Linked DNA regions of Homo sapiens: regions 2, 3, 4, 5 and 6 are each linked to region 1. Evidence: promoter capture Hi-C in 16 types of primary human blood cells and fetal thymus (Javierre and others, 2016). All regions are on one chromosome and are shown on one strand. The core of a region is centred on a gene start or on the middle of the fragment in contact, and the rest is flanking DNA. Distances in the headings are between cores, read along the strand shown. Region 1 holds the start of FANK1 (fibronectin type III and ankyrin repeat domains 1). Region 2 holds the start of HMX2 (H6 family homeobox 2). Region 3 has its middle 9.4 kb from the start of MKI67. Region 4 overlaps MKI67 (marker of proliferation Ki-67). Region 5 holds the start of AS-PTPRE (lncRNA antisense to PTPRE protein-coding gene). Region 6 overlaps PTPRE (protein tyrosine phosphatase receptor type E).

Region 1 (5,037 bases), core at 1,486-3,985:
CACCTGAAGTTAGGAGTTCAAGACCAGCCGGACCAACATGGAGAAACCCCATCTCTACTAAAAATACAAAATTAGCCAGGCATGGTGGCGCATGCCTGTAATCCCAGCTACTTGGGAGGCTGAGGCAGGAGAATTACTTGAACCCGGGAGGCGGAGGTTGCAGTAAGCCAAGATCACATCATTGCACTCCAGCTTGGGCAACAACAGCGAAACTCTGTCTCTAAATAAATAAATAAATTAGCGGGGTATGGTGGCACACACCTGTAGTCACATCTAGCCAGGAGGCTCAGGTGAGAGGATTGCTTGAGTCCAAGAGTTCGAGGGTGTACTGAGCTATGATCGCACCACTATACTCCAGCCTGGGTGACAGAGCAAGACCCTGTCTCAAAAAAAAAAAAAAACAACAAAACTTGAGCTAAATGGTGATTGAATTATTTAAAATTAAATTGATGAAATAATTTAAGAATATGTGGAAAGAAAGAAATTTACAGTCATTCCTCAGGTATAAATTAAATATTTTCCACCTCAAAATCCAATGACATGAGATATAAATGTATAGTTCACATAAGTAATACATTTCTCACATGGTTACAGAACCTTTCTGATCAGGCTCCGGTTGAATTTTCCAGCCTTATCTCATTTCTCCTCCCTCCTTCCAACCCTGTTTTTTCCTCCTCCTCTCCTTAGCTACAGCTTTACTAATCTTCCTACCGTGAGCCTCAAACCCACGCTGCTCTCAGGTCTCAGGGCCTATGTACAAGTAATTCCCACTGCCTGGAATCCCTTGCCCTCATTCTTTGCTGGGTCATTCTGCAGACCCAGTACTACTTCCTCTTGGGAGCCTTTGTCCATCTCCTCTTCCCCCAATCTCCGAACCCCACCAAGACCTCAGGAGTTCTTGAGCAAGCCTCTGCTTAGTTTTCCTGGGATGACCAAAACTAACACTGTCCGATCCGTTGTTCAATCCTCAATCCCTAGAACAGAGCTGCAACATAACAGGCACTATAAATGAATGAATGGATAAAGACAGCACTGAAGAACTTGAAATTATAGTTTACACATGAAAACAGTAACATAAATCTGAAGAAATAAAGTTCTTTTTTTTGTTTTTTCGAGATGGAGTCTCGCTCTGTCACCAGGCTGGAGTGCAGCGGTGCAATCTGGCCTCACTGCAACCTCCGCCTCCCGGGTTCAAGCGATTCCCCTGCCTCGGCCTCAGCGTCCCAAATAGCTAGGACTCCAGGCACGCGCCACCACACCTGGCTTTTTTTTTTTTTTTTTTTTTTTTTTTTTTTTTTTTGTATTTTAGTAGAGATGGGTTTCACTATGCTGGCCAAGATGGTCTCAATCTCCTGACCTCGTGATCCGCCTGCCTCAGCCTCCCAAAGTGCTGGGATTACAGGCGTGAGCCACCGGGCCAGGCCAAGTTGCTGTTTTTAAAAGGTATATTTCAACTCACTTCTCTAAGGCGGGAATATACACAGCCTGCCATCAGTTTGACATAAAACAAAAATTTTAGCGTTCTTGTATGCTAAATTTCTTTTACTAGGTTAAAAAAATGTAGAATCCAAAGAGCTGTAAATGCAAATGACAAATACTGTACAAAATCTATCAAGCAACTATAAGTCACAACTTGCAAGCTTTCTCCTCAGCAAATGAGTTAAAAGGAAAAGTATTTGAAACTTTCTTGGTGGAAAACGAATGACCTTTAAAAATGCCAACATTTTCCCCAGAGAATAGATTTGGTCTGAGTTCTTCATTTCTGAAATTGTACAAGATAAGACGACTTGGTTTGAGAGTCAAACTGCATCCTTCTATAAAGGTTTTAGATAAATTTTAAGTCTCCATACAAAACACTCCCCTTATTTTGAGAACAAAAGGAACAATAAGACAGCTTAGGCGGGGCAGAGAAAGAAAGGCCTTGAAACAAAGTCCCTGGAAAGGTAAAAACAACAACAAAAATAGTAAGTTAGAGCTCGTGTTTAGATCTGATAACTCAAAACTGCACAACTTTTGCCATACATCGAAAGCAACATGGGAAAACAGAAAAAGAGATTACAAACATTTTTTGAGTGTCCTAACTTGTAGAACCCCTAAGAATGAATCAAATACACTTGGACAAAGCTCTTCTTTTCTCTCTCTCTCCTTCAAGTCGCAGACTAGGGGTGTGGGGCGGGGGGCGGGGAGTAAGACGGGGTCTCTAATAAATACAAGACCCAGCCTCGGACGTGTTTAATTGCTGACATTTTAGAAGAAAAATGGGCTACTTACAATTAATGAACCAAACTACCAAACTAAAATCATGAGTAGGAGGAGGAGTAAATGGAACCGTCCGGGCGAAGTTTCAGGAAGACGCACGCTGGGGTCGCTGCGCCCTTCCCCACCCATACCTCGGGGCTCTCCAGTCGCTCCCAGCCCCCAGCGCGGACTCTAGGGCGCCGGCGGCCCAACCATACAGACTTGGCAGGATGTAGCCCCCTTCTCCCCTCTCCAGGAGAGAAAAGCGCGAGGAGACGCAAACCGTATTTCCGTGTCCGAGCGTTGAAACCTGCGGAGTCGCGCGCGGGGCGCCCACACTCGTTCCCGGGGAGCCCCAGCCCGGTCGCCCGCCCCGGTCCCAGCTCCAGCCCGGGCCTCCCTTACTCTGGGGCTCCATGGTCGGCTGCTCCCCGGCCTCCGCGGGCGAACCCCCGGACTCCTAACGCCTCTCAGCCAGGGCCGGCGTCGCTACGGTTGCCCTGACAACCCGGAGGCGAAGTGGGCAGAACTAAAGGGACGGCGAGCGGGAGGGACCAAAAGCCGCAGGAAGTGAGGGAGCGCGTGAGGACCCGCGCGTCGCCGGGGACACTGAGCGAGGGTAGCGGCCAGGTCACCGGCTGAGGACACTGCTCCTGAAGCCCGGTCAGGCGGTCGCGCCCTCCCTGGCGGCCCCCGCGGCCCCGCAGGACCTGTGCCCCGACGTCGCCGACCCGCGGTCCCCGCTGTCGCCGACCCGCGGCGTCCGTCGGGCGAGTGGGCCTGCCCGCGGGTAAGGCGCCGGCCCTGGGCCGCCCTCCCGGGAATCGGGAGCCGCCGCTGCAGGTAACAGCGGGGCCCCGGCGGCGGAAGGGGTCGGGGGTCGGCGCAGGGGCGGGCGCGCCCCGAGCCGGGTGGGCGGCCCCGGCGCACCTGTTGTAGCCGCCTGGGGGTCCCCTGCCCGCAGTTGGCCGTGGACGTTCCCCGCCCCGACTCCGAAACGCCGAGGGCGGCCTCCGCGCCTCCTGCTCCGGGAGCCGCGCCTCAGCGGGAGGACGGAGCCCTGCGGGCAGCCCTCGCACCAGGGGCTCCCTCCGAGCCCGGGCATGGGCCGGGCCTGGGGCGGTCCCTCGAGCCCCCCTGACGGGAAGCGTGGAGCAATGCGAGCCGCCGCCGTCGTCGCTGTCGTCCCCAGTGAGCCTGGCGCGTCTCCTGAATCGCGAGAGCCAGGAGCACGGTTTTGCCCGGCTTTGCCCCGTCATCCCCGTGTCCCATTTCAGGCAGGGGGCCCGGGTTGGATCTTTCTCGCTGGCTTCGTTTTTTGTGTGTTGATTTGTTTCAGTCCTTCGCGTTTCCGGTTGAGTTACGGAATCTGCCCACACGTTTTGTGGCCAAACTTTGTAGGGCTGTGAAACAATGTAACATTATCCCACACAATAGTCTTTCATACTGGTTTTAAAACACAGTGATTCAGGGTTTGCTTTAAGGAAGCTTTGAGGATCACAAGAGATTATTATCTGGTAGGTTGTAAAAATTCAAACAACCAGGAGAGTATCATAGGTTCCGGAACACCAGAAGGAGGAAAGAAAAATGGAGACGAGAGAAAAAGGATAAGCAAGAAAGTGCAGGGGCATTAAGGGTGTGGGGGGCTGCAGGATTGATTTGGTATTCAGGTCTGGAGATTATGGCCCCTCTATTAATTCCAACCGCTGCTCCAGACAGTACTTGAGGGAAATGGAAGGAAGAGCCGTTTTGGGGGTCATGGAAGTGATTACTAATCTTGCCAGTAGAAAGATTTCCACTCCATGGATGACAAGGACACTAAGGAGAATTACTTTCCTCTTAGGGAATCATTGAGAGGTTAATTGAACTTGAGAAGCATATATTCTGTGATGGAAACTGACATTTATTATATTCTTCCAAATTAGGTTTTCCCCCTCTCAGACTATATGGGGACTTTTTCAGATTAATTGTCAAAACAAGAAGGTTTATGTGTGGATATTGACAAGCAGCGTGATATATACAGAACACATAATTCTTAAGCTGAAGTATTAAGGTAATAAATTAAGGGTGGAAAGTAAACACTTCATGGAACCTTAACTCCCTGTTCCTGAAATTTAGAGACAGGGGCTTCATTTTTAGACAGAAAGTATAAAGATCAGCAGTACTCCTGTATCCAGTGGTTCTCAAGTTCTAGTTTACATATCATTAGCAAAATCACAAAGCGGTCTTTTCATTCAAGATACAAATAGAGTGATCAGTATATCATAATCAAAAGTGACAAGATAGTGATTTAAAAAACACCTGGCATTTATTGACAAAAGAAAAGGTAGGATTAAGTCTGCTCAAACAGTAAAGGATTAGCATTAGTATTTTTTTAAAAAGAAGAAACAACAGTGCAGGTCTCTATGCTAAAGTAATAAGGACTGAAGAAGTTTTAAGTTTGGAAAAAATGGGGATATGTATTGGTGAAACACTTTGTAATCATATAGAATGATTATTTTATCAGCAGCTGTTAAGTTGACTTTGAGGAAATTTTGAATTGAAATACTTTAGGTGACAAGTAAAGGCAACTGTGAAAAGCAACATTTGATTTTAGGGGACAGGGTACCTGTGAAAGAAGACTGGTTAGGAGTGGAAGTCAGGCGTAAAGGCACTGAAATGTCCGAGGCAGGGACAATATTCAGTTTCTCTTCCTCTATCACCTTGTGCAATGTACCTGTTAAATGTTTGTTGAATGAGTGAGAAGGGCTTTAGAGAAATTGTTTTGGATATAGGGATACACTTTACTATTGGAGAAAA
Region 2 (5,037 bases), core at 1,450-3,949, 2.8 Mb after region 1:
CTTTGCTGCCCATCCTGGGTTCATAAGAAATCGAAGGAAACCAAGAACTCCCTTTAGAGACGATCTGGGTGATCTGGGTGGAAGGTGGTGCAGCAGGCAGGCAGTGGGGAGGGGCGGGGAGGAAATCTAGGGGGAGGGGGCGCCGAGGCTGGTGAGGCGTCCCTTCCGCGCCAGGGACATGCAGGCACCGGATGGCTGCGCAGGGGTTCCTGCCCGCCTGGCTCTGGGTGCGCCCGCCCAGCCCCGGTGCAAATGCCCCTTCCTCGCCCGCCAACTCGCCGGGTCTCCGGCGGCGCGGAGGCGGCGCGGCCTCATTTGCATAGAGGTTACCCGAACGCGGCCAATCGCAGCGCCGCCGAGCGGCCCCGGAAAATTTCAAAACGCTCCGGCCAGGCACACAGCACCGGTGCGCCCCCAGAGCGCGCCGAGGGCCTGGCGGGCATCAGCGGCGTCTAACCAGGGGCAGCCAGGGCTGAAAGCAGCTGCAGATTCTAGCCCGGGTTCCTGGCGGCTGCGGCAACTCCGACTCCTTGGACCCCTTGGACCCTTCTCTCCAGAGGCAGGGGCGGTGCGGGACTCGGAGCTGGAGTGGCTCGACGCCTCCGCAGGCGACGGGTCTCCGCGCCTCCCAGGGGCTTGTACAGGCTGCTCCACCATCCTCCCCCAGCCCTCCACCCCTTCTAGCCCCAGTGGGCGGGCAAAGCCGGCACTCCTGGGACCGTGGCGCCCTGCGTGGGGGTGAGGTGGGTTAGGAGCAGGCGTCTCCAGGCGGACGCTCATCCTCTCCAGCATGGCCAGGAGCCTTGGGAGCAGACATTCCCCTTCCCCGTCTGCAGACCTCATCCCTGTCACAGGTTCTACGGACCTACAGAATCTTTAGGGGGAGGGAGGAAGCCCTAAGACCTCTAGTCAAGAGATCTGGGTTCAAATTCCGGCACAACTATTTACACACTGCATGAACTTGCACAACTCATGCCGATTAAAGCCTCTCTGCCCTCATAGTTGAAAATAACTTCTCGGATTGCCTCAGGTAGGGATTAAAAGCCTCGAAGCACTAGCAGCGCATAGTAGGTACTCCATAAACCTGGCCGGGTAGCCCATGGCCCACCCGTGTTTTAAGCGAATCTGTGTTTTTGTTTTGTAAATTTTGAAGGTTTCCGAACTGCTGCAGAAATAGACGCCTTACTCCCAGGAAGAAGATAAGGAACTGGTGACAGGACTCGGTTTTAGAATTGAGCAGACTCGACTCAATTCTCGGCTGGGTGATCTTGGGGGAAGACATTTGGAAATTCTGAGGCTCGGTTTCTTTATTCCTAAAATTGGAGGAAGCAGTGCCTCCCTCGCAGAGGCTGTTGTGAGGTCAAACTACCCAGCACCGAGCCTGGCACACCGTGGTGCTCAGTAAATAGTGATTCCCTCTGTGTTCTCATAGCCCCCTTCTGTGCCCTGGCTCTCGCCCCTTTAATTCCTAGATCAGCTGTTACCCGAGCTAGAATTAGCCCAGCCAAGCAAAGCGGTTTGGGGCCACAGTCGTCTGCACAAGCTTCCTGGAAACTGAAGTGAGGCAAGGCCCGAAGTGCTCAGGCAACCCCGTCCCCTCAAGCTGTGACCTCTAGACCTCTTGGCCAAGAGATTCCAGAAGCCCTGTCTTTAGGGTGCCCCCCAAGTGCAGCCAAGGGTGAGTGGAGACTCTGGAATCAGTCCCCACAAATGTCCAGACACTGCATGACTGTGCAGTTCCTTCCTCGCCTGCACCGCGCCCGGGTTATTAAGTAAAGCGCTTATAATATCATTAGCCGCGGTGAGTTACCGACTGCGGCCCTGCCCGTGGCAGAACTCTTCCCTACTTAACTCCTCGAGGGGCTCGTTAATGGGCTAATTGATTAGGAGTCGGCCGCGCAGCCGGGGCAGGGGCAGGCGAGGGGGCGGGGGCCAGGGGGTGCGCGCAGCGGCCCGGGAGGCCAGCGAGGGGCAGGTGCCGGCCTCCGTCACCGCATTAACCTCTTCAGGGCTCAGCGGCAGGGTCGAGACACATTACAAATGGTCAGCTTTAATCATGGTGTCAGCTCATTAACCCGGAAGGACCTGGCGCTGAAATACAATTTGTGCGTTCTCCTCTGCGCCGCGGCGGCGCAGGCTCCTGGGCCACGTCGCAGCGGGTCCCGCGTGCTCCCGCGCTGTTGGGGGGTACGCGGGAGGTTCAGCGAAAGAATCGTCGGATTCTCACTAACCATCCGCTTCTCGCAGACATCCTGAGCTAGGCGCTGCCTCCGGAGCCAGGGTCAAGGCAGCCCCGAGGGGAACTGGCCAGCTAACTCGGGGAGCAGTGCCAGCCACCCCGCTGGGGAAGAAAGCTGGGGGCAGGCAGGGAAAGTTGGTCGAACCTTCCTGAACTGTAAATATGTCGTGCGGGGAACATGCTGGAAGCTCCCCAGCATTCTTCGCTTTAATCCTGATGGCAAACAAGTGACACAGATCTATTCACTCAATGTACAGGCCGGGAAACTGAGGCTCAAGAAAACAAGAGACTAGCCCAGGCAGACAAAGCAAGACTCGTGCTCAAGGTTGTTCCACTGCCAATACATCACATTTGGGAGGAGGGAGAGAGGAGCAGACACAGGCATTGAGCTTGGAGGATGGCTGCGGGGAAGACTGTGAGGATCCTGCTGACTCGGGATGGCGGGGGCGGGTATATGGGTGGGGCAAGAGCCCAAGGAGTGATCTCTGTCAGATCAGGGGACCTCGAAGTGGGCCTCGGAAAAGCAACTCCCAGGCCCTGAAACAGTGAGAGACTGGGGAGTCGACCCTTGCAAGAAGCCTGGCTTGCGGACTCTAAACAAGGAAGTTATGAAGCCTTGCGTCCCTATCTCTCCTTCCCCTAGGGATAGTTTGGGAAGTCAAAAAGATCCATCTTGCCTTGTATTTCCTCTGTCCCGTCCCTCTAATCGCTTCGAGGGTCTGATCTTCACCGAGGCACTTCCTCTGCTGCCACACCCGGCAAAGGACGCATTAATTCGCATGAAGGCACTTGCATAAACGCCTGCGCACACTCACACATTCATTCAGCAAACGTTCACTGAGCTCCTACTAGTGCGTGCACTTTACCAGGGAAGAGATGGTGGTGGGCACGGGGCTGGGGCAAGGAAGGCTGTGGTGGAGACCCAGCTCTGCAGCCTGACTGACTGCAGTTCCCCTGAGCTCCCCTCGATTGATAGCCCGAGGGACCTCCCGCCCCTCCAGCACCTATAGCCGTCACACCGCAAGGACGGGAGGGACAAGAAACAACCTTCCTTGCCGCCCCTTTCTAGCATATGGGGATCTTCACCGGGAGCACGGAGGCCCAGACGCCCTCTCCTGGGCCCAGTGTAGCTACAAAACTCACTCCCAGGAACACTCAGTTCCTGGAACCACCACCCACAGACACCTCATGTCTCTCCCCTAACGAGTGGCAATCCTTCAACTCAGTACTATCCCACACCCCGCCCACCTCCCTAGCCTTGGGATAGCTCCGCCCAATCCTACTCAGTTTAATACCCACACCTTGGAGGATGGCCCCTCTGCATCTTTGGGATCGACCCCCTGTCTCCCTCTCCTAGGAATTAGGCATAACCAGGTTCCAAGGAATGATAAACTTTCTGAGCCTGAAAGAACGCTTAAAGTTTAGGTCCCGAGATTATGCCACTGCTCAATATTAAAGCGGCCCAGAGCAAACTTGCCGAGGATCCTAATAAAAATTGATCCTCTCTGCTCTGCGGCAGTTGGGAAATAGGCTGGCTGAGCCGGGTAATAGAAGAAGGCTCCCTCCGAAATGACAGATGAAGTCATAAACAAGTTTGATCTTGGAATCAAGCTTCGATAAATATTAAACACAGTCTGCCCCCCCGCCCCCACGCGAGTGGATTATGATATATGGCGCGTCCAAACTTTAAAATAAGGAAATACCAGAGAAAATGATCTCAATAAATTTTCTAAGTATAAACGTTGATTATGTTTCGATTTTCGTTCAAGGGCCTCTGCTGTTCGTTCTTTGGTGCAAATGACATCTCACAATAGGCTTTTGGGGAAAAGGGCTCCCTATTTGAAAAAGAGAGCCCCAGAGGTGTACAATTTATGTAATCTGCTGCTGGAAAATGAATTGTGTAATTTATTGGAAAACAGAAAGTCATGAAGATTGGATCAGCATAGCCGAGTCCCGACACTCTCCACCCCCCTCCCCACCCCCCCACATCCATCAAGTTCCAATTAACAGCCTAACCAGAGAGCTTTAATGGGTTTCCAATCTAGTGGCCTGATAGACTCATCAATTCCTCTGGGAGAAATTAAGAAAATCGACCGCCCCTTGGCGACGCAGTGTCATTCCTTTCTGCAACTATATGTCAAATTAAAAACACAATTAAAATTTAAACTGTTTCAATCAAAGGGTGCCCTGCAACCTATGTTTCACTTAATAGAACTTTGATGAAAATCTGATGCGTGCACTCCATCACCAACGGGGGCGAGGGCGGTGAAGGAGCTCACGAAAGAAGGGGATTCTTTATATTTCTTTAAGACATTAGCGCTTGGGTGAGGCACAGCAGGTGACTCCACCTCACCGCTCCTGCCTCAGTGATAGGCGCAACGCGCTCTCTCGCTGGCTCTATACCTCTCCCAGGCCTAAACCCAAAGGGATCCTTTTGGAACCCCGGCAACTCAGACTTTGGGAAGTTTCCCCCGGAGATGCATCGCCAGGAGCAGCAGCCAAGGAAGAGATCTGCGCTAGTACAACTCATGCGCACCTCCAGGGGACTCTCGGAGAAGGCGCGCTGCAGTCTCCAGCTATCCCTTCCCTCGGGTCTCCAGAACCGCCCCGTCGCTGGAGTGATACCCTTAGGGGTCCTGGAAATGGAAGGGTGGGGAGGAATCCCAGGCGCATACATGGGCCCCAGTGAGGACGAGGGTTGTGTTTCTATCCAGGACCCGATTACCCACCTCAGCCTATGCTCCCCACCTCGTGCACCTTCAGGGTACTCCGCCGGAGAGACACACCGGGGACAAGTG
Region 3 (5,037 bases), core at 1,542-4,041, 2.2 Mb before region 1:
ATGGTGGCACATGCCTGTAATCCCAGCTACTCGGGAGGCCGAGGCAGGAGAATCGCTTGAACCCGGGAGGCAGAAGTTGCGGTGAGCCAAGATCAGGCCATTGCACTCCAGCCTGGGCAATAAGAGTGAAACTCCATCTTGAAAAAAAAAAAAAAAGAAAGAAAAAGAAAAATTCATGTATTTGGTTTAGAAGGTGCAATAACCAGACAAAAATCTCCATTCTTTTGGAATAAGGGGAGTGGAATGTGACATCTGCAGCCAGCTTCCTGTAGTGATACATCAACGTTGCAAAGTGCAGATGAAAGAGCAGGGCTTTTGAAAGCCCATTTTTAAAGCTTTTCCTTTCACTTTCTACCTATTGATTAGTTACCAGTTGTTCTCTTCTTTCTACTTGTAGGCCATATTATTTCATTTCCACTCCACAAATCCAACATAGTTAATTGGGTTTGATATTAATGAGCTTGTACAGCTAAAACATGGAAATATAATAACTACTGTTGATCGATCTTTCAGGTAGGTAAAAGCTAATTTTGCAAACAATTAATGTCATATTGTGATTTATCATAAACCACTGAAACAGTTCAACAGTGATCCATCTTTAATGTTGATGAATGTTAACAGATTTCAGATTGTAATTCTCAATACATTTTCCAAATGGAATAGCATATAGACCTAGAATTTGTCAAAAAGAAATAATTTTTCCTCTAGCCTCTTAGAATCAGTGTTTGGAGTCTTGTAAATTAAAATGACAAAAAACTGGCCTGGCCGGGCGCGGTGGCTCACGCCTGTAATCCCAGCACTTTGGGAGGCCGAGGCGGGCGGATCACGAGGTCAGGAGATCGAGACCATCCCGGCTAAAATGGTGAAACCCCATCTCTACTAAAAATACAAAAAATTAGCCGGGCGCGGTGGCGGGCGCCTGTAGTCCCAGCTACTCGGGAGGCTGAGGCAGGAGAATGGCGTGAACCCCAGGGGGCGGAGCCTGCAGTGAGCCGAGATCGCGCCACTGCACTCCAGCCTGGGCGACAGCGAGACTCCGTCTCAAAAAAAAAAAAAAAAAAAAAAAAACTGGCCTAGCACTGTGGCTCACACCTGTAATCCTAGCACTTTGGGAGAAGGAGGTGGGTGGATTGCTTGAGCCTGGAAGATGGAGACCAGCCTGGGCCATATGGTGAATCCCTGTCTCTGGAAAAAAAAAAAAAAAAAAAAGCAAAAATTAGCCCAGCATGATGGCGTGCACCTATAGTCCCAGTTACTTAGGATGCTGAGCTTGGGCCCAGAAGGTTAAGGTTGCAGTGAGCTGAAATCTCACCACTGCACTCCACTCTGGGTGACAGAGTGAGACCCTGACTCAAAAAATAAAATAAATGACAAAAACCAGATTAACAAGAGATTAACAAGAGAAAAGACAAAGTGTATTCATTTTGTTTGTTAATATCCATTCTCAGAAGAGCACAAAGAAAGCAGCCAATAGCTGAAGATAGGGGCTTATCTGTAAACTTCGTAGTCTGATAATGGGGTGAGGATAGGGCATAATTCAGACAAAGCTTCTGTCTGCATTTCTTGATTCTAAAATGTTTTCAGCTCAAAAAATTTTATGCCACTGTGGTATAATTTGGATCCATTCAAAAAATGAGAAATTGGACTTAAATATCAAATTCAAGGATTTGAGTACAGATAACCAGGCCAAAGAGGTGATCTGGTCCTAAAAGAACTTACTTTGTGGAGAAGGCTGAATGTAAAACTCTGCATGAGTCTTATAGTTTCAATTATCAGGAAGCAAACACTCACGTAACTAAACCAAGTCATGAAATAGAACATTTCTTCCAGAGGCTTCTTCCATCCTGTCTTCTAACCGCGACTTCTTTCTCTCATCACAGAGTCTGTCACTGTGGCTTTTATAACATTATAAAAATACTTTGAGTTTTATTTTTATTTTTAAATTTATTTATTTATTTTTTGAGATGGAGTCTCGCTCTGTCACCCAGGCTGGAGTACAGTGGTGCAATCTCCGCTCACTGCAAGCTCCGCCTCCCGGATTCACGCCGTTCTCCTGCCTCAGCCTCCCGAGTAGCTGGGACTACAGGCGCACGCCACCATGCCCGGCTAATTTTTGTATTTTTAGTAGAGACGGGTTTTCACCATGTTAGCCAGGATGGTCTCGATCTCCTAACCTCGTGATACACCCACCTTGGCCTCCCAAAGTGTTGGGATTACAGGCGTGAGCCACCATGCCAGACCTTAAATATTTTTAAATTATTATTATTATTATTTGAGTCTCACTCTGTCACCCAGGCTGGAGTGCAGTGGCACGATCTTGGCTCACTGAAACTTCTTCCTCCTGGGTTCAAGCAGTTCTCCTGCCTCAGCCTTGTGGAGGAATAGTTAAATATTAAATGTGAACTCATTTGGTTGTGGACAGAAACAATGGTCACCAAGTCTCGGAACAGGTTGTGTGAGCCCCTTAAGGCGTTCATCCAGCACTGTTTCAAAGAAATCCCTATTTCAATCTATTCCTATACGTTAGTTATTGAAAAACAATAGATAATTGCAAAAACAAGTTGACCTTTTTGTGTTCCTTGAGCCCCGTCACGAAGGGCCCTCGTAACTGGACCTCATGCCAAACAACTCGTTACAAAAAGAGCTAGGGTCTCAGACCACGCAGAAGCTTCATGAGACCCCTCCTTGTCTGCATGGACAAGTGGTCGACTCTGGATCCCAAGATGTTGCTTCCCAGTTTGGTGGTGAATCCTCCATAGTCTGGTGAGTGTAAGTATCTTTTTCCCTTCTCTTCCCATTGCAATTTGCTTATTGTAACAATATCCTTATTATATTGATTTTCTTATTATATCATTTGCTTATTATGTCATTTCCTTATTATATCTGCATTGCCATTTACATGGGGTAAAGCTTGTTTACCCTTTAAAGTATTGTGTGTGTGCCATTTCTTCTCCCCTCATGCATTTCCTGCACAGAACATCAGCCTTCCCAGTAGCTGGGACTACAGATGCCCGCCACCACAGCTGGCTAATTTTTGTATTTTTAGTAGAGACGGGGTTTCACCATGTTGGCCAGGCTGGTCTCAAACTCCTGACCTCAAGTGATCCTCCTGCCTCAGCCTCCCAAACTGCTGGGATTACAGATGTGAGCCACTGTGCCCAGCCTGAGTTTTATTTTTAAACATGCATCTTTGAACACTATATTTTGTCTGACATTACTAAACTTCACAAAAATTAAATAATAAAGTATGTAATTATGTCCGATGTCTCTAGTCCTTATGAGAATCATAAAATATTGATTGTAGTTGTCATTTGTTTACATTAACTATTTGATTGAAATAATATACCTGCCTGGTGCAGTGGCATATGCCTGTCATCCCAACACTTTGGAAGGCCAAGGATAGGAGGATCACTTGAGGCCCAGGGCTCAAGACCAGCCTGGGCAACACAGTGAGACTCCATCTCTTCAAAAAATTTAAAAATTAGCCAGTCATGATGGTGTGTATTTGTGGTCCCAGCCACTCAGAGGCTGAGGTGGGAGGATCACTTGAGCCCGGGAGTTTGAGGTTGCAGTGGTCTATGATTGTGCCAATGCACTCCAACCTTGGCAACAGAGCAAGACCTTGTCTCTGAAAAAAAAGAAAGGAAGAAAAATAAATAATACACATAATTATACACAATTTTATCGTTCTGGATGGACATTTCAATAGCTTCTAGTTGTTGAAATGTGTTGGCATTTGCTTTGTGATCAGATATGGCTGCAATGTTTACTAATCTGTGTATTATGTGTTTGAAAAGAATGTGTGTTCTACAACTGTTGGTTGCAGTCTTCAATCTATATATGTCAATTAGATTCAAATCTATATTAGTTTTATTTATTTATTATTTCTATTTAGAAGGTACGAGTACTTTGTTTTCAACAAAATTTTTACAATGAATATCGTTCATTTGAAAACATAGCCTTTGTCTCACAAATCATAACCCTTTGTTATTTTTACTATTTGTTATTTTTACTATTTGTGACTGTGTTGCTGTGTGCTACATCTGTCTGTCTGCTGTGAGAGGGATAGTGGTATAAATAAGCCAGGCAACTTCCTGGGGTTTTAATATCCAAGGAACAGAAGGCTGGTCTGGGGTACAAGAAAAACGCTCTGACAGTTTCTCGGGATCGCGTGTCCTGCATATAATAGGTATGGAAATGTCAAATGCACATCTTTACTCTGGAAAGCAGAAGATATGTAGAAACCGGGCAGCTGCCTTATGGTGAGGAAAGCTGTTGCTATTATACCTGCCTGTCTTACTGACTTTATAATAATAGATTGTCCCAGTGTTAAGTAATTGGTTTTGACCACTATTTTGTGTTGTTAAGACGTACTTTCCTTCCAGGGGGCATAGCTGTTTCTGGAAACAACACACTGTAAGATGCTTTTCTTAAACCATTAATAGTCGAGGAAATGTTGCCACTTGAATCTCCATCTCAGTAAAAGTGGGAATTGACGTGGTGATGGTTGTACTGGATTAGAACCATGCCAGGCACCCAGGGTTTGATCTTCCTGGGTTGTATAAATCGAGCGGTTGTTTGTACTGCGATGCTTTGGGAGACTTTTTTATTTATTTATTTATTTAGTTAGTTAGTTAGTTAGTTAGTTATTGAGAAGCTTTGGGAAGCTTTGAGATTAAACTGCTGAAAAGGAATCTTGTTTGATTTCATGGCTGATGTTAAAATGGAAGAGTTGCTGTGCTTCTCATTGTAGCCCATGGAAGCTACTTACCAAACAGCCACATAAAGATAAACACATTTAGCTAAAAAGAAAGAAGAAAGAAAGAAAGAAAGAAAGAAAGAAAGAAAGAAAGAAAGAAAGAAAGAAAGAAAGAAAGAAGGAAAGAGAGAGAGAGAGAGAGAGAAAGAAAGAAGGAAAGAAAGAAAGAAAAGAAAGAAAGAAAGAAAGAGGAGGTAGCAAAGTTTTTCACAGAATGTCTCATCCAGCAAAATATTTTGAGTACATACGACCTGTTATGCACATCTACTGAGGCATTC
Region 4 (5,037 bases), core at 1,794-4,293, 2.2 Mb before region 1:
TGGACTTAAACTAGAAGAAACTTGACTTTGCTCTCATGTGCATTAGCTTATGTCATAGAAGGTGCTTGGTAATATTGTCAAATCATACCTGGGCTGTTCGTCAGTGATCAGAAGTTAATCTGGGTCCCCAGCCTCTGACAGTGGTATTTCAAAACAAACTCGATGCAACTAATCCTAGTTTTTAGTGTAAAAGCACTTTTCTAACTCTAAATTTATTTCTTTGTATAAGGTGATGTCTTGAACTAAACCCAAAGTTTGTTCGTTGATCCTTGGACATTAAGTGGATATGGAGACTTCCGCCCCAGGGTATAAATTTTTAATCAGGATCTTTGTCGTTCTATAAACTGCAGGTATGAAAATGAAAGTCTTCAGAATGGAAGGAAGTCAACTGAATTTCCAAGAAAAATACGTGAACAGGTGATAGAAAATATCCAAGTTTGGGCTGATTCGTTTCGATGATATGAAATCATTTATGTATGCTTTAATGATTTCTTACTTGAAATCAGTTACAAAGAGGGTGGTTACTGTTATAGTAGGAAAATGTAACTAAAGTATAAAAACGAGTTGAACTTAGACGTATTAAAATAATCTAAAATGATATTTCCTCTTTATTGTTCAAAATCAGAGCACTAAGTTGGTCTTACACTTTTAGCCAAAAAGTCTATTAGAGCATGTTGCGAGCTTTTTGCAAACCCATGATTAGGATAACCCCAACACGTAGAGCTAACATTTGGGAATTGCATTATCTGGTGGCTCATTTTGTCGCCCAGTCATTGTACTCATCCGTCTTTATGTGTCTGAAATAATCACATTATGAAAATCATGAGTGCCAAAGATGCTTCTCTATTTTGATAGATAGACGACCCATGAAACAGGAAAAGGGATCCTGTGCTTTGTCTTGTGAGAGAATCCTATAGTTTGAGTGTATCAGTGTGGAACAGGTATTCCAATTGTACAGCTTATGAAAACATAATTGTCGACACGTGCTTCGCAATTTAGATAGTTTGAGTATATCAGTGTGGAAGAGGTATTTTAGTTGTACAGCTTATTAAAACACAGTTGTCGGCATGTGCTTGGAAATTTAGTGGGATTTAGGCTTAGGATGAGCCCTGAGAATTCATATTTTTCCTACATTTTAGAGTGCTCCTAAAGCTAGTTTCAGATGAGCTCCTTGGAATATCTTGGCTTAGGAGAGTTATCTTAGGTGCACCTGAAATTAGCAGTAGGTACTCTTGAATTTCAACATTTCTGCCTTTTTTTTTTTTTTTTTTTCTGAGACGGAGTCTCACTCCGTCACCCAGGCTGGAGTGCAGTGGTGCGATCTTGGCTCACTGCAACCTCCGCCTCCTGGGTTCAAGCAATTCTCCTGCCTCAGCCTCCCGAGTAGCTGGGACTACAGGTGCACACCACCATGCCTGGCTAATTTTTGTATTTTTAGTAGAGACAGGGTTTCACCATATTGACCAGGCTGGTCTTGAACTCCTAACCTCGTGATCCACCCACCTGGGCCTCCCAAAGTGCTGGGATTACAGGCTTGAGCCACCATGCCCAGTCCATTTCTGCCATTTAAGTACTGCCTTCTTCCCTAGAGGAGCAGCCTTAATGTTGAATCTGATGGTCATCAGTTCCCGTGCTGGAAGCCAGTTTCTGAGGCATCCCACACTGTAGCCACCAGGCAACTTGCTAGTCTATGGGAGTAAATAAACCAAAAAGCCAGTTGAACTGTGGGTTAGATATGTGCCACTCAGCAGTCTAGGAACTGTTTGTTCTGTTACTGGTCTGTGATATAGTGAGTACTGAAATGGAGTATGTAGTAAATATGACAGCAATTCGACAGCAATTTTGTGGCTATTGAATGTAATCGTACAACAAAAGTGAGATTATATACTTTACATATTCATAATTTTATTAGTGGTTCATTTATATTGTTTAGTCATAAGATTCTTGTTCCACTTCAGATTGGAAATAAAAAACCATCCCTCACATAGATAGTTTTAGAAGCAAGGTGTTACGTATCAAGAAACCTAAAATTGATTAAGGAAGTTAGATTCTTTGCCTTTGTTAATATTTTTTAGATATTTTCTTAATAATCCAGATGATAAGCTTTTCTTCCTTTGGGGCATCAGACTTTTATAAAAGTTATATATATATGTTATTCTTTAGTTCTTCCACCCTTCCGGAAATAATTCCATATGAAGGAAAGTTAGGGCGCTGTCTCTGGGGAGCCAGGTGGGGGCGCTGCGCCTGCTCCCAGGCTGTGAGGTTGCAGAATCTGTGAATATACCATGTGTGCCTGTACCATGAATTTACCTAGGGTGAATCTAGGCTCTCAGATCCACCCTAAGTATCCACCAGCCAAGAGGGCGCACATGCCAAGTGGAGCCTCAGTTCATCGACAGGTCCTATGGCCCATTTATGAGAAAACTGATGACGCAGTCAGTAGTTCTGAGCTCGTGGGGGGTTACAGATCTTCAGTATAGGTGATGTTTAATATTGACTTTGGTTCTTCCGCAATAGGATGTTGGGAAATATCTTTAAAGGAAGTTATAAAAACACACCGAGGTTTGATTTTAGTAATTTTAAGCCTCGAATTTGTTTCCTATTAATCACTCACTATTTTTTAATGAGTCAGCTAATAAGTACTTTTATCCTGACCACTAGCTCCCAACTGACTTGAGCTCATTTCTCAAACAGTCTTTAAAAGTCATATACGAGTGGTTTGGTAAAGAAAACAATTTTTTATTGTTTTTATTTTTATTTTTTGAGACAGAGTCTCGCTTTATTGCCCAGGCTAGAGTGCAGTGGTGCAATCTCTGCTCACTGCAACCTCTGCCTCCCGGGTTCCAGCAATTCTCCTGCCTCGGCCACCTGAGTAGCTGGGACTACAGGCACCTGCCACCACATCCAGCTAATGTTTGTATTTGCAGTAGAGATGAGGTTACATCATGTTGGCCAGGCTGTTCTCAAACTCCTGACCTCAAGTGATCCGCCCACCTTGGCCTCCCAAAGTGCTGGGATTACAGGCATGAGCCATCATGCCCAGCCAGAAAACAATAAATAATATTTTCACTGTTGTGACTGTCATCATTTAGAAAGACCTGCAAATAACTGTTCTTATTTTCCCAACTTACAGGAGCCAGCACGTCGTGTCTCAAGATCTAGCTTCTCTTCTGACCCTGGTGAGTAGTGGTTGGGTTTTGTTCCAGAATCCTGAAAGATCAGGTCTTTGCGAAGCATATTGGCAAAGAAGGGGCAACAAGAATGCAAGTGCTAAATGTCTAGCCTGTCAGAAATGGAGGAGGTGTCATTTAACATGTCAACGACAGACAGATGCCTAACTTTCCCTTGGTGACTGATGGTATGCTATGCTTAGGAGAGACTCTAGATATGAGAAAATTGCCTGTTCAGCTGTCAACTCAGTTCTCAGTAGTTAGATAGCATGTGCTATTTCATACTGGTTATTGGAGCTGATATGATTTATATATTTGTATCATAATACTAGTATCATAAGACTTGCAAGTTTTAGGCATTAAATAATTTGTAGGCCAAGTAAAAGCTAGCTTATAAGACAACCTGAAACAATTAAAATATTGAATTCCACAAATGTTAATCATTGAGAAAATGCTGAACTTCTGTTTCTTATTTCATAATTCATTGCCAAGATGAGAAAGCTCAAGATTCCAAGGCCTATTCAAAAATCACTGAAGGAAAAGTTTCAGGAAATCCTCAGGTACATATCAAGAATGTCAAAGAAGACAGTACCGCAGATGACTCAAAAGACAGTGTTGCTCAGGGAACAACTAATGTTCATTCCTCAGAACATGCTGGACGTAATGGCAGAAATGCAGCTGATCCCATTTCTGGGGATTTTAAAGAAATTTCCAGCGTTAAATTAGTGAGCCGTTATGGAGAATTGAAGTCTGTTCCCACTACACAATGTCTTGACAATAGCAAAAAAAATGAATCTCCCTTTTGGAAGCTTTATGAGTCAGTGAAGAAAGAGTTGGATGTAAAATCACAAAAAGAAAATGTCCTACAGTATTGTAGAAAATCTGGATTACAAACTGATTACGCAACAGAGAAAGAAAGTGCTGATGGTTTACAGGGGGAGACCCAACTGTTGGTCTCGCGTAAGTCAAGACCAAAATCTGGTGGGAGCGGCCACGCTGTGGCAGAGCCTGCTTCACCTGAACAAGAGCTTGACCAGAACAAGGGGAAGGGAAGAGACGTGGAGTCTGTTCAGACTCCCAGCAAGGCTGTGGGCGCCAGCTTTCCTCTCTATGAGCCGGCTAAAATGAAGACCCCTGTACAATATTCACAGCAACAAAATTCTCCACAAAAACATAAGAACAAAGACCTGTATACTACTGGTAGAAGAGAATCTGTGAATCTGGGTAAAAGTGAAGGCTTCAAGGCTGGTGATAAAACTCTTACTCCCAGGAAGCTTTCAACTAGAAATCGAACACCAGCTAAAGTTGAAGATGCAGCTGACTCTGCCACTAAGCCAGAAAATCTCTCTTCCAAAACCAGAGGAAGTATTCCTACAGATGTGGAAGTTCTGCCTACGGAAACTGAAATTCACAATGAGCCATTTTTAACTCTGTGGCTCACTCAAGTTGAGAGGAAGATCCAAAAGGATTCCCTCAGCAAGCCTGAGAAATTGGGCACTACAGCTGGACAGATGTGCTCTGGGTTACCTGGTCTTAGTTCAGTTGATATCAACAACTTTGGTGATTCCATTAGTAAGTTTATTTAATTGTAAATTTATTTTTCTAAAAGATGAACACCTTCTATGTAGCTGTGAGACCTTCATTCTTTCAGTAGTGATTAGCTTTGTGGAAGAGAATGTAAGCACATAAGGCACAGGGATAAGACAGACACGCACGCTGTTTTCGCTAATAGATGAATACTGAAGGCCTAGGTAATTGTAACAAGGAATGACAGAAGAGATGGAAGTTGTCAGGCAATCATGAAGCAGGGGTTATTGAAGGAGATAGGGTGGCCCCAAAAATATTTGATTCTCCTCCATCTATCACA
Region 5 (5,037 bases), core at 658-3,157, 2.2 Mb before region 1:
AGTCCCGAGCTAAGTGCTACGTGCTGAGGGGGATGGGCGGGGAGATAAGGAAGCCCCTGGCCCTGCTGCTGTCCTGCCGTGGGCTAGCTCCCTGTGGGTGTCTGCTGGCAAGAGAGAAACACATGCTTTCATCTGCTTCAGCCAGGATCGTCAGGTTTCCTGAGGTTTCCAGCTGGGCACATTCCTGATGGCCTCTGCGTGTGCACATGTGTGTCCTTTTTTCTTAGAGATTCTGCATTTGTAACAACTTCCCAGGTGATTTTGATGGACGCTGACTTTCAGAGCTCATTGCCCTAAAGACTCCTGGCCTAAGAGTGAGGAAGTCTGAGGAATCTGGTTTCAGCTCCACTGATATCTAACCGCACGTACACCAGGTCCTGCAGATGACAACCTCTGGTGGAACGGAGTGATGCTGGATTCAGTACTCAACACACAAGGTAGCCCTGTGCAAGGTGAAGGGCACGTTTTCACAGCTGAAGTATATTCTTAGTTATGGCCTTGATCTGAAAAGCTATTCACCCCACTAACCCCTCGCCCAAACTTGGGGAGCCATGTAGGGCTCAGCCAGCTGAGAGAAATTCAAGGTTATCTGACGCAAGTATTAACAAGCTGGAATGGCAGCCGGGGCCATTGCGTGCCCTGTGTTCACACCATATAGGTGTGGGAATAAGTGTGTGTTTCTCTGACTACACATATCCGTTGTGTGAATGGATATCTAACGTGTCTGTTAGGTGTAAACACACACACACAAATCCAGTATAAGTCCTTGGTCTTGTTGGCATACAGAGAAGGAAATAAGAGCTATTCACGTTACCAAAAATACGTTGAGAAATTAATAAAAAGCTTACCTTGAGCTGCTATGAATTTATTCTTCTCTTTGTAACCCTAGAAAAAATAACATCAGATTTATATTTTTTCAGAATTATCTTTGCTGAAAGGATTTGTTGGTGTTGCTGTTAGGAAAGCAGTACATATTCACCATGGAAAATTTGCAAAACACAGGAAAAGGTTAAGAAGGAAAGAAAACTCACCAGCAATTCCAGAAATAACAAATCCTACTTCATACGTCCCCTCTCTAGTCTGTTTTTCTGCCAAACCTTTCCCAGACTCACCCACAAGCAGACATGCAGACATTTCTGTCCTCTAATTGGGTGAACATGTACAATTTATTTTATGTTGTATTTTTAATGGGAATTTTATAATTGATATTAAATGATCTTTTAAAGATTAATACAAATCAAGTTCTAATAGTCCACTGCACATGGTTTTACCACAATCTGTTTAACTACCCATGCTCCCTGTTCTATTTGGTCAGGAATATACATAATGCTGTAGTGAACATCCTCTGTGATCATCTCTGTCTCTTGAATTCAAATTCCCAGATGCTGATGCCAGTGTGTAAAGCACGGGCAGTTCCGTACCCTTTGTGCTTGTGGCCAAACTGCCCAGAAAGGTTGTGACAATTTACACTCCGGGCACCAGACAAGAAAGTGCTTACTGCTCATGCCCCAGCTGGGCCAGGGGAACAAGAAACCTCTGCCCACTTACATCTATGTAGGAAGCATTGATGTAGTCTGAACAGGGAATTCCATCCAGTTGGCTCAGAATCACCCTAGAATGGTCATCTGGAAAAAAAACCCAAACAAAGCCAAGATATTAGGACCAGGAATCACAGTGCTGTCTCTTCCAGAAATCACAGTGCTGTCTCTTCATCTGCAGTGTCAGCTCCTGGGAAGGGCAAAAGCAGCTTCACAGCGACACCAGGGATGGCAGAGATGTTCTTCCTCAGCGTTCCCATGGAGAACACTAGTGTCCTGAGAGAGAATGCACCTGCTTTGGTGAACACTGACTGTCTCAGCTGTGGCATGACGACAAGGGTAGGATTTCAGCATCCAGGATGGGGGCTGCTGGGTCATTACATAGCAAGAATAGCAGAATGTGCCAGGCCCCTGGCAGTGCAAGGGCTGTATTTTATGAACCCTGCACTGGGCCCAGCCCCAGTGTTGCCAAGTGTGGGTGCACTTAAAAGAGCCCCAGGACAGGAGAACTGGGTCCACTCTCCCAGGCTTCCCAGGGAAATGAGCACCAGCCCCATGAGGACAAGTGGATGTGGGGGTCTAGGATTGGGGACTCTGACCCTCAGTCCCACCACCGGAGTCTGCCCCAGAGCTGGAAGGCGAGCACAGTGAGGAGCGTCTGGTAGATCCAGCCTGTTGCACAAGCAGTTTTCCGGGGTAGAAGGCTGACCGTGGAGTGCTCTGTGTGTGGGGTGTGTGTGTAGTGAGTGTGGTGTGTGTGTATTGTGTGTGTGGTGTGTGTGGTTGTGTATGTGTGTAATGTGTGGTGTGTGTGTGGTGTGTATGGTGCATGTGTGTAGTGTGTGTGGTGTATGTGTGGTGTGCATGTGTGTAGTGTGTATGCTGTGTGAATGTGTGCATGTGGGTTTGGTGTGTATGTGTAGTGTGTGTGTGTGTGTGTGTGTAGTGTGTGGTATGTGTGTGGTGTGTATGTGTGTGGTATGTGTGTGATATGTTTGTGTGGAGTGTGTGGTGTGTGTGTGGAGTGTGTATGTGTGTGCGTTATGTGCGGTGGGTGTGTAGTGTGTGTGTTGTGTGTGTGTGTGTGCATGTAGTGTGTGTGTACACACACGTCAGGGCTCCATCATGACTTTTGTGGGTTGTAGTCACTTCTGCCTTTGCAGCTTCCTCCATAGAACTATTAAGAAGGTTATCTTAGGACTGGGTTGGTCGCCAGTGAAAAGATGCACTCCAGAATGGGTTTTGCACGTTTTGTTTGTGATTTGAAGAGAAATGAAGACATTTTCATGGGCTTCTAAAAGTGCTGTGGGCCTGGCCCTGCTCCTCCTGTAACCTTTCCCAGGAACGTCCGGCTCGGCCAGGCTGGGACCAGGCTGGTTCTGAGGACGTTTATGCTGCACTGGGCACAGAGTCTGGCATGTGGTAGAAGCTTAGGGTCTCCTTCCTGAGTCATTACTGAGTAACTCTAGGTCCTCTCCCTGCTTTCTCTGCTTAGTCTCTGATCAGGGTGGGTTGTGTTTGTGGTGTTTGTGGCGTTTGTGATGGGGAGCCGGGCAGCCCCCAGGTCATGCCTTGTTTGTCTCACCTTCACCTGGAAGGCTGCCAGGTGGGCCACGGGCTGGTGGCCTGCGACCTCCGATGGTTGAGCCAGCTCTGTCGGGCTGCCAGCAGAGAAAGGGCGGGTATAGCTCTGAGAGACAGTCACAGCCCACACAGGGTGGCCAGGGAGTCAGACCCCAAACTTACAGTCCTGCAGACCTCACTGTGAGACCCTCCTGCTCAGGGACTGGCAATGCCCAGGCAGAAATAGCTCTGCTGAACACATATAACACTAGTTGAAAATAATTTGGAATGGTTTACGCTTTGAGGACAGCTATAGAAAAGCACAGGGTAAAATATAGCCTTCTGCTTAGATTTAGAATCTTGCAGTTTCTAAGAGCTTCCTGTCTTTTTATTCTAAAAAGTCACACTTCACATTCAAAACATTATTTCCTAAAATTATCAGCTGTTGGCACTTTTCCAGAAAAGAGGCCTAGCTTGCCATCTTTCTATAGTCTTTCTACAGGCAAAAGTCAAGCCTGCCTGACATGCAAAGCACCTTGACCTCTGACCCCAGAGCTCCCCAGGGCCACATGCCTGCCCAGAGCCAAGGACCATCTTATGACTCTGGTAAAAGACTGGGAAAGGCAGGGAAGGTGCCAGGGGCTGGGGAAGTTGGGTCCCTTCTCTCCTCTCCCCCAGGTGACTCTCAGTCCCACCCTAAGTGATACTAGGGGCTGGGGAAGTTGGGCCCCTTCTCTCCTCTCCCCCAGGTGACTCTCAGTCCCACCCTAAGTGATACTATGGGCTGTCACCCTGGGGGCGGGTGGAGCAGCCCTGAGAGCTCCCTGCCCAATGTCCCTTCAGCCTTAAGTCTTCCTGATGGCTAATGCCAGATGCCACCCCATTGATCCTTGCCAGGCCACAGCGTCTCCATGCCACCATTCTGTAAACCCATCTTTCCACCCATGTGAGAAGTGCCACGTCCTGGTCCCCCAGTCCCGGGCAGCTGCGTGGGCCCTGGGGTTCCCATGGTGTGGTGCTCCTGCCAGGAGCAGGGGAAAGATCTTACAGGGGAATCTAGAAAAGCCCATTCTGAATCTGACTACACTTTCAGGCTTGGAGGAAATGCCAACTGACTCCAGCAGCACAACCTGGAGAACGCGGCTCAGAGAAGACTTGAGAACGTGGCTCAGAGAAGACTTGCAGTGGGTGGGCCCGGCCTCTTCCAGGTGGGGGACTCCCAGGTGAGGCCACTGCTCTGCCCTGGGCCATCACACTTTGAGAAGGGGACTGGGTGTAGGTAATGCCCACACTTGGCCATGATTCTGCTTCCACAGAGGTCCCAGCTAAATAGTCTTAATTAACAATGTGATGTTACCTTTAAGGGATGAAGGTTTAGTGATTGAGAGAAATGAGGAATTCAGGAATGTGCTTAGCACTGAGCGGTTTCTTAACACATATGGTTGGCAAATCAAGGCACAACTTAAAACCACTCAATTAAGGTAATAAATTAAGCAGTGAAACTAATTTCTAAATATCCCAAATTTGACACACATTATTCCAAAGATCTCAGACCTCCTCCTGCCATGGCCTTCCTTTCCTTTGAGCTGCTCAAGCCATGTAAGTTGCCTCCCCTCTTTCTGTGATATCTTCTACCCATTGGCAACAAATCCTCTCCAAAGTGTGCAGCATCTAGCCATGTCTGAGCTACTGTCAAGGCTCAGCTGTGTGGCCACCACATGACCTCCTGACCCATCTTCCTGGTGTTGCCTTGGCCACCCCTACACATATGTGTTGAATGAAAGACTATTTGATGAATTTCTCCCAGTTTTCATTGGATCATGGGTTCACAGTGGGTTTTGTGAAAACCACATATCAATCCCACGCATGTAAAATGGGACAGAATTATTTCTAAAAAGTGCACAGTTTGGACAGACCACAGATCGGACAGACCATA
Region 6 (5,037 bases), core at 1,570-4,069, 2.1 Mb before region 1:
GGCCTCCACGTTCCTGCCTGTAGTGAAGGCTGCGGTCACAGACATGGGTACTTCCATAGAAGACGGGGCTGAACCACCCAAGCCCAGAAAGGGGCCGTGCACACGGGCAGAAGGGATGGGTCACAGGGCCAGTGGCTTCCCCAGCTCTGTTCCTGGTGTTTCTTAGTAGCTACCTCTGTTCAGGAGGCCAGAGATCAGGATCAGAAACCCAATGGCCTTCAAGGGGCAGGTAAGAACATCCCTGGGTGGTGTGGGGAGGCCAGGTGGGGGCGAGAGTTGGGACTCCCCATGTCCTGCCTGCAGGGATGGCTACTTCTGAGTTCCAGCCCACTGGGGCCAAGCACAAGGGGTGCCCACAGTGCCTAGTTCTTCCCACTTTCCTAAAGAAGAAATTCATATTTTTATGTAAACATTTTCTGATTTTTAAATATTGGTAAGAAATTCAATTTAAAAACATTTTTTTTAAATGGTGTGGACCAGGAAGAAAACAAAAATATGTCCTCTGGGCACCAATGTGGTCCAGCCAGGAGTCAGGGAGTCATCTGAGAAGAAATTCCTGTCACAGTTTATTTTCATTTCATGTTATTGTGGCTCTGACGGGGTGGGACAGAGGTCAGGGTGGCCAGTCCCCAGGGTGGTCATCCTGAAGCAGCCTTCTTCCTGTATGACTGTCTAGCTATTGCCCAAAGTGAAGTGTGTGTATGTTCACACCAATTTTATACATACATACACTTGCAACTTGTGTGTGTGTGTGTTTGCTTACATAGAATCTGATCCTGAAAGTTGAAAACCTTAGGCTTGAATGTGACTTTGGAGGAGACAAAGAGAATGGCAACCTTGGCTGGAGTGTAGCCACCCAGCACCCTCTGCTCAGGAAGCTGATCCTGAGCTCTGGCCAAGAGCCGGGGTCTTCCAGGGACTACCTCAGTTCTGCCCCAGGGCACAGCTGCTCTCACTGTGTCCCCTATCTTATCTCCATCCCTCTTTTCCTCTCCCACCTTCATTCCAAGCCCTCCTTCCCCAGGGGCCCTAGAGGCGGAGCAAGTCCATACTGAAAAGATGTGGCTCACTCAAGGACAGGTGTGCAGACAATGGTTTAAGGTCCCAACTCACTCCGGCCTAAAATTTTCAATGTTCAGGAACCTGTTCTCTTTGCCAGAGTTAAACATAATTAAGATTTCAAAGCGTATCTTTCCTGACATTTTCTTCTATAAATTTACGTTCATAAATATGCAGGTTTGGGAAATAAATAGACCATACTACTCCTCTCGTTTCATCTACAGCTTCACGGACTGTAAAAAGTATCGTTATTTTAAGAACCACTAAGAAAGAAAAAAAATGATACTGATTATAATTGTGAAGTGCTACCAATTTTAAGACACGTCCCCATATAGCCACATTAAATATGAAAGAAACAGATGAAATGCACCACGGGGCAGTTCTCCAGCTTGCTTTTCTGGTACGGCTGTCTGTCTTGGAGAGTTTCCATGTCAGCCCAGATAAGCTTCCTCATTCTGTTTAATAGCTGCTTGGATTCCACTTTTTGGATAGACCAAAATAGGATGGACATTTAAGTTGTTTCCAACTTTTCTGCTATTACCTACAATTCTGCAACACACACACACACACATATATATCTTTGTGTCTCGCAAGTGTTTCTGTAGGACAGCTTCTGTGTTAGCCTGTACGCCTGTTACATTTTAACACAATTGCCAAGATGGCAGCCCCAAGTGTCCAACTTCTACATTCATCCACAGCGGAGGTCTCTAACTCCCCCAGGACACAGATGGATATCAGTCTGTGGCCTGTTAGGAACTGGGCCACACAGCAGGAGGTGAGTGGCAGGTGAGCAGGCATTATCGCCTGAGCGCCGCCCCCCGTCAGATCAGCAGCGGCATTAGATTCTTACAGGACCGTGAGCCCTATTGTGAACTGCGCATGCCAGGGATCTAGGTTGCGTGCTCCTTAAGAGAACCTGATGCCTGGTGATCTGTCACTGTCTCCCATCACCCCCAGAGGGGCCGTCTAGTTGCAGGAACACAAGCTCAGGGCTCCCACTGATTCTACATGATGGTGAGTTGTATAATTATTTCATTATATGTTACAATGTAATCATAATAGAAATAAAGTACAAAATAAATATAATGCACTTGAATCATCCCCAAACCACCCCCCACCCCAATTCCACGGAAAAACTGTCTTCCATTAAACCAGTCCCTGGTGCCACAAAGGTTGCGGAATGCTGCCCATAATGTGCGATGGAGCCAGTTTCTCTTCTCTGGGATATTTTGCCAACCCTTTGCATTTTGGTCCATCTGATAGGTAAAATGATAATGTCATTTTAACTTGCATTTCTCTAATTTCTAGAGAGTTGAGCATCTTTTCATGATTAGTGAAACATAATTAGATATTTGTATTCTACCTGGTCATATTCTCTACTCATTTTTCGACTGTGTTCTTTTACGTATTATTTTTTATAGATAACATTTTATTACATAATTTGTAAACATTTACCTTCAATTCCTTCTGTAAAAGAATTTGTCTGCATGAGTACTGAATATATTTTGTTCGATGAACAAATGAAACAGCTTCCTATTATTTTGGCACACTGTGGAAACGTGTTATCATCTGAAATGGTCCTTCATACTTCTTCCAGGGGTCAGATGAAGATTTAAAGGGCACTTCACAGGGTCAGGTTCCCCTCCACAATTCTAGGTCAAACGAGCCCGTCTGCGCCTTATAACCCGAGGCCCATTTCCCTCTTGCTCGTGGACCAGCAGCCTTGCTAAGCACGCAGAGGCCCTGGCAGAGGCTGGACCAAGGTGTGAGTTTCACATTTAGTTCTGCTCTGGGTGCTGAGGTCACATGACAGTGTCCTCCTCCTGCAAGTAACACCCCATGTCTATGGCAATATGTGAGCCCAATAATTTTGTTTTCAAATAAACTGAAAAGCCTCAGATGTGGAGTGGACGTCATCCTGCCGGTGCCCACAGTGCCACCCGAGGGACTGTCTGCAGAGCTCGGGCAGATTCTTCCCCACTGTTGCGCAAACGGATGTTCTGCCATTGTGGCTCCTGGATGTGAGGGTACATCCGGGCAGTTTGTCAGATGTTTCTACGTGGCCAGTCGATTAGCGTTGGGAAGAAAAGTCGGGATTGTGGGTTGAAATAACTCTTTGAACCACCAGTGACCTGCCCCTGAAAGGCTGGCTTGCAAAGAGGCAAGTTAATATTTGCGGGCAGCTTCTGGTCTCTCATTTTTGGGGTTTTGGATTTCTCTGAGGTTTCAACATGAAGAGGAAAAAGACAGGTGGGCGCTCAGAACTGCTCTCCTTGCTAGAGGTTCTGTCACCAGAAATCTTTACTCTTTCCTCCTCCTGGGGCCAGTGGTACATTTGCAGGACATTTGTCCAGGGTTTGCAGGACATTTGTCCAGGGTTAGGGAATCATGTGGGGCTCTTGATGTGACTTTGTTCACAAGCCCCCACCCCCACTTCCCTCTTGCTCTTTTCTGCATAAAGCCCAGACATCACAGTTCACTCGTGAACCCTTCAGCAGGCATGTCAAAAGGCAAGGACTCTTCTTTTTAAAAATAAAACTAACCATGACGCCAATATCTGACCTAAAATATTAAGAATAATTCTTTTTTTTTTTTTTTTTTTTTTTTTGAGACGTAGTCTCTGTCTGTTGCCAGGCAAGAGTGCAGTGGCACAATCTCAGCTCACTGCAACCTCCGCCTCCCAGGTTGAAGTGATTCTCCTGCCTCAGCCTCCCGAGTGGCTGGGACTACAGGCGCCCACCACCACGCCCAGCTAATTTTTGTACTTTTAGTAGAGACAGGGTTTCACCGTGTTGGCCAAGATGGTCTCAATCTCTTGACCTCGTGATCTGCCCACCTCGGCCTCCCAAAGTGCTGGGATTACAGGTATGAGCCACCGCACCCGGCCTAAGAATAATTCTTTAGTTCCTATCATTAACTGTCACATCGCCTCATCCATGTATGTTCATGGTTGGTTTTCTGCACAAGGGGATTTTGGGGGATTTTTAACCCTTTTGCACTCCTGCCTCCAGCCAAGGCTGACCCTGACTCTCAGCTGGGGTTGTAGATGGGTCACCTCCAGAACACTAAGCTTTGCTGAACAACCAAATGCTAAACTAGCTTATTTAGCCTGCCTGTTTTTAGAGGCACAAACTATTAAAAGCACACTAAGAAATTCAGCCACACCATTCTTCTCTTACCCTAAGCCCCTTTATCACCCTCTGAATGGTCCCAGGAGCTTAGGAGGAGGTAGTAGGGGAGGCAGCCAGGGAAAGGGGTCCTTACCTGAGGTCGTGGTTGTCTCGTTGCTGTCGGCAGTGGTCTCGTTGCCCCTGAGAGCCCTGGCGAGCGGCAAGCTAAAACCCACCAGCAGGAGTGGACACAAGGGCTCCATGGTGGACCTGCAGAGAGGCAGGGACAGGCTCAGAGGTCATCCAGCAGCAGCTGTGGGACCCTCCGGTGCCAGGCAGTGATGATGAGGAGAAGAGCCAACTTCATTTCAGGGCTTTCTCTGAGCCAAGAACTTTGCCTGTCACTTTCACGGATCATCTCACTGAGGCTTCTCAACACCAGGGGGATACAGTCACTGACTGTGGACATTCACTCAAAGGAGGGAACCAGGACTCAAAGGACCTGCTTGGTTGATGGTTAGTGGGGGCAGATCAGGGACTGGAACCCAGGGTGATCTCATCCCAGACCCCTGCCCTCCCTGGAACCACTTAGCAGAAATCACATCTGGGTGACCTAGCCTGGCATCCTGGACCCTCTACCATCCACCCTCCACTCGCCCTGCTAACTCTACCCCTCCCATTCAAGCCCTGTTCTCTGGCCACGCTGTCCTCTTCACACCCAGCAAGACACTGCTTTTCAATCGGTTTCTTCATCCCCCTTCACTCTGCCTGGGAAACCTCGATCCTTTCAGGGCCTAGTTCATGCAGCCTCATCACCCAGCTGCAGCCAAGTTCTCTGTTCTTCGCTGCTCCAGCACACTCAGTCTGA

What was found. The method cuts DNA at HindIII sites, captures the fragments that hold promoters and counts their contacts. A CHiCAGO score of 5 or more calls a contact.
Region 2: a contact is called between a fragment that was not itself captured here and the fragment with the promoter of FANK1 in region 1, in 1 of 17 cell types (monocytes). The highest score is 5.9, in monocytes.
Region 3: a contact is called between a fragment that was not itself captured here and the fragment with the promoter of FANK1 in region 1, in 2 of 17 cell types (naive CD8 T cells and activated CD4 T cells). The highest score is 9.0, in naive CD8 T cells.
Region 4: a fragment that was not itself captured here is called in contact with the fragment with the promoter of FANK1 in region 1 in 1 of 17 cell types (naive CD8 T cells); the score reaches 6.0 in naive CD8 T cells.
Region 5: a contact is called between a fragment that was not itself captured here and the fragment with the promoter of FANK1 in region 1, in 4 of 17 cell types (naive CD8 T cells, total CD4 T cells, non-activated CD4 T cells and 1 more). The highest score is 10.8, in naive CD8 T cells.
Region 6: a fragment that was not itself captured here is called in contact with the fragment with the promoter of FANK1 in region 1 in 1 of 17 cell types (naive CD8 T cells); the score reaches 8.6 in naive CD8 T cells.

Annotation. Positions count from the first base shown.
Region 1 is chr10:125,894,262-125,899,298 of GRCh38, reverse strand. FANK1 (fibronectin type III and ankyrin repeat domains 1) reads right to left here and starts at 2,735. Exons shown (of 11, transcript NM_145235.5): 1 at 2,644-2,735. The coding sequence starts at 2,656. It also overlaps a transcript of DHX32 not described here. RefSeq lists silencers at 2,165-2,459, 2,551-2,690, 2,851-2,930, 3,151-3,230. The HindIII fragment of the contact is 2,086 bases long and covers 1,643-3,728 here.
Region 2 is chr10:123,143,355-123,148,391 of GRCh38, reverse strand. It overlaps HMX2 (H6 family homeobox 2), which reads right to left and starts at 256. Exons shown (of 2, transcript NM_005519.2): 1 at 1-256. The coding sequence starts at 13. RefSeq lists a silencer at 67-386 and an enhancer at 4,665-5,037. The HindIII fragment of the contact is 2,307 bases long and covers 1,546-3,852 here.
Region 3 is chr10:128,133,340-128,138,376 of GRCh38, reverse strand. No RefSeq gene overlaps it. Among named protein-coding and RNA genes, the nearest start is that of MKI67, 9.4 kb to the right of the region's middle. The HindIII fragment of the contact is 242 bases long and covers 2,671-2,912 here.
Region 4 is chr10:128,114,633-128,119,669 of GRCh38, reverse strand. MKI67 (marker of proliferation Ki-67) reads left to right here. Exons shown (of 15, transcript NM_002417.5): 5 at 351-417; 6 at 3,134-3,179; 7 at 3,663-4,742. Among named protein-coding and RNA genes, the nearest start is that of MKI67, 9.3 kb to the left of the region's middle. The HindIII fragment of the contact is 1,876 bases long and covers 2,106-3,981 here.
Region 5 is chr10:128,057,527-128,062,563 of GRCh38, reverse strand. It overlaps PTPRE (protein tyrosine phosphatase receptor type E), which reads right to left. Exons shown (of 21, transcript NM_006504.6): 8 at 1,549-1,625; 9 at 849-885. AS-PTPRE (lncRNA antisense to PTPRE protein-coding gene) reads left to right here and starts at 139. Exons shown (of 3, transcript NR_136150.1): 1 at 139-437; 2 at 1,720-1,877; 3 at 4,195-4,832. RefSeq lists enhancers at 16-65, 1-596. The HindIII fragment of the contact is 2,124 bases long and covers 846-2,969 here.
Region 6 is chr10:128,040,277-128,045,313 of GRCh38, reverse strand. It overlaps PTPRE (protein tyrosine phosphatase receptor type E), which reads right to left. Exons shown (of 21, transcript NM_006504.6): 3 at 4,324-4,439. The coding sequence starts at 4,432. Among named protein-coding and RNA genes, the nearest start is that of AS-PTPRE, 20 kb to the left of the region's middle. RefSeq lists an enhancer at 1-355. The HindIII fragment of the contact is 2,625 bases long and covers 1,507-4,131 here.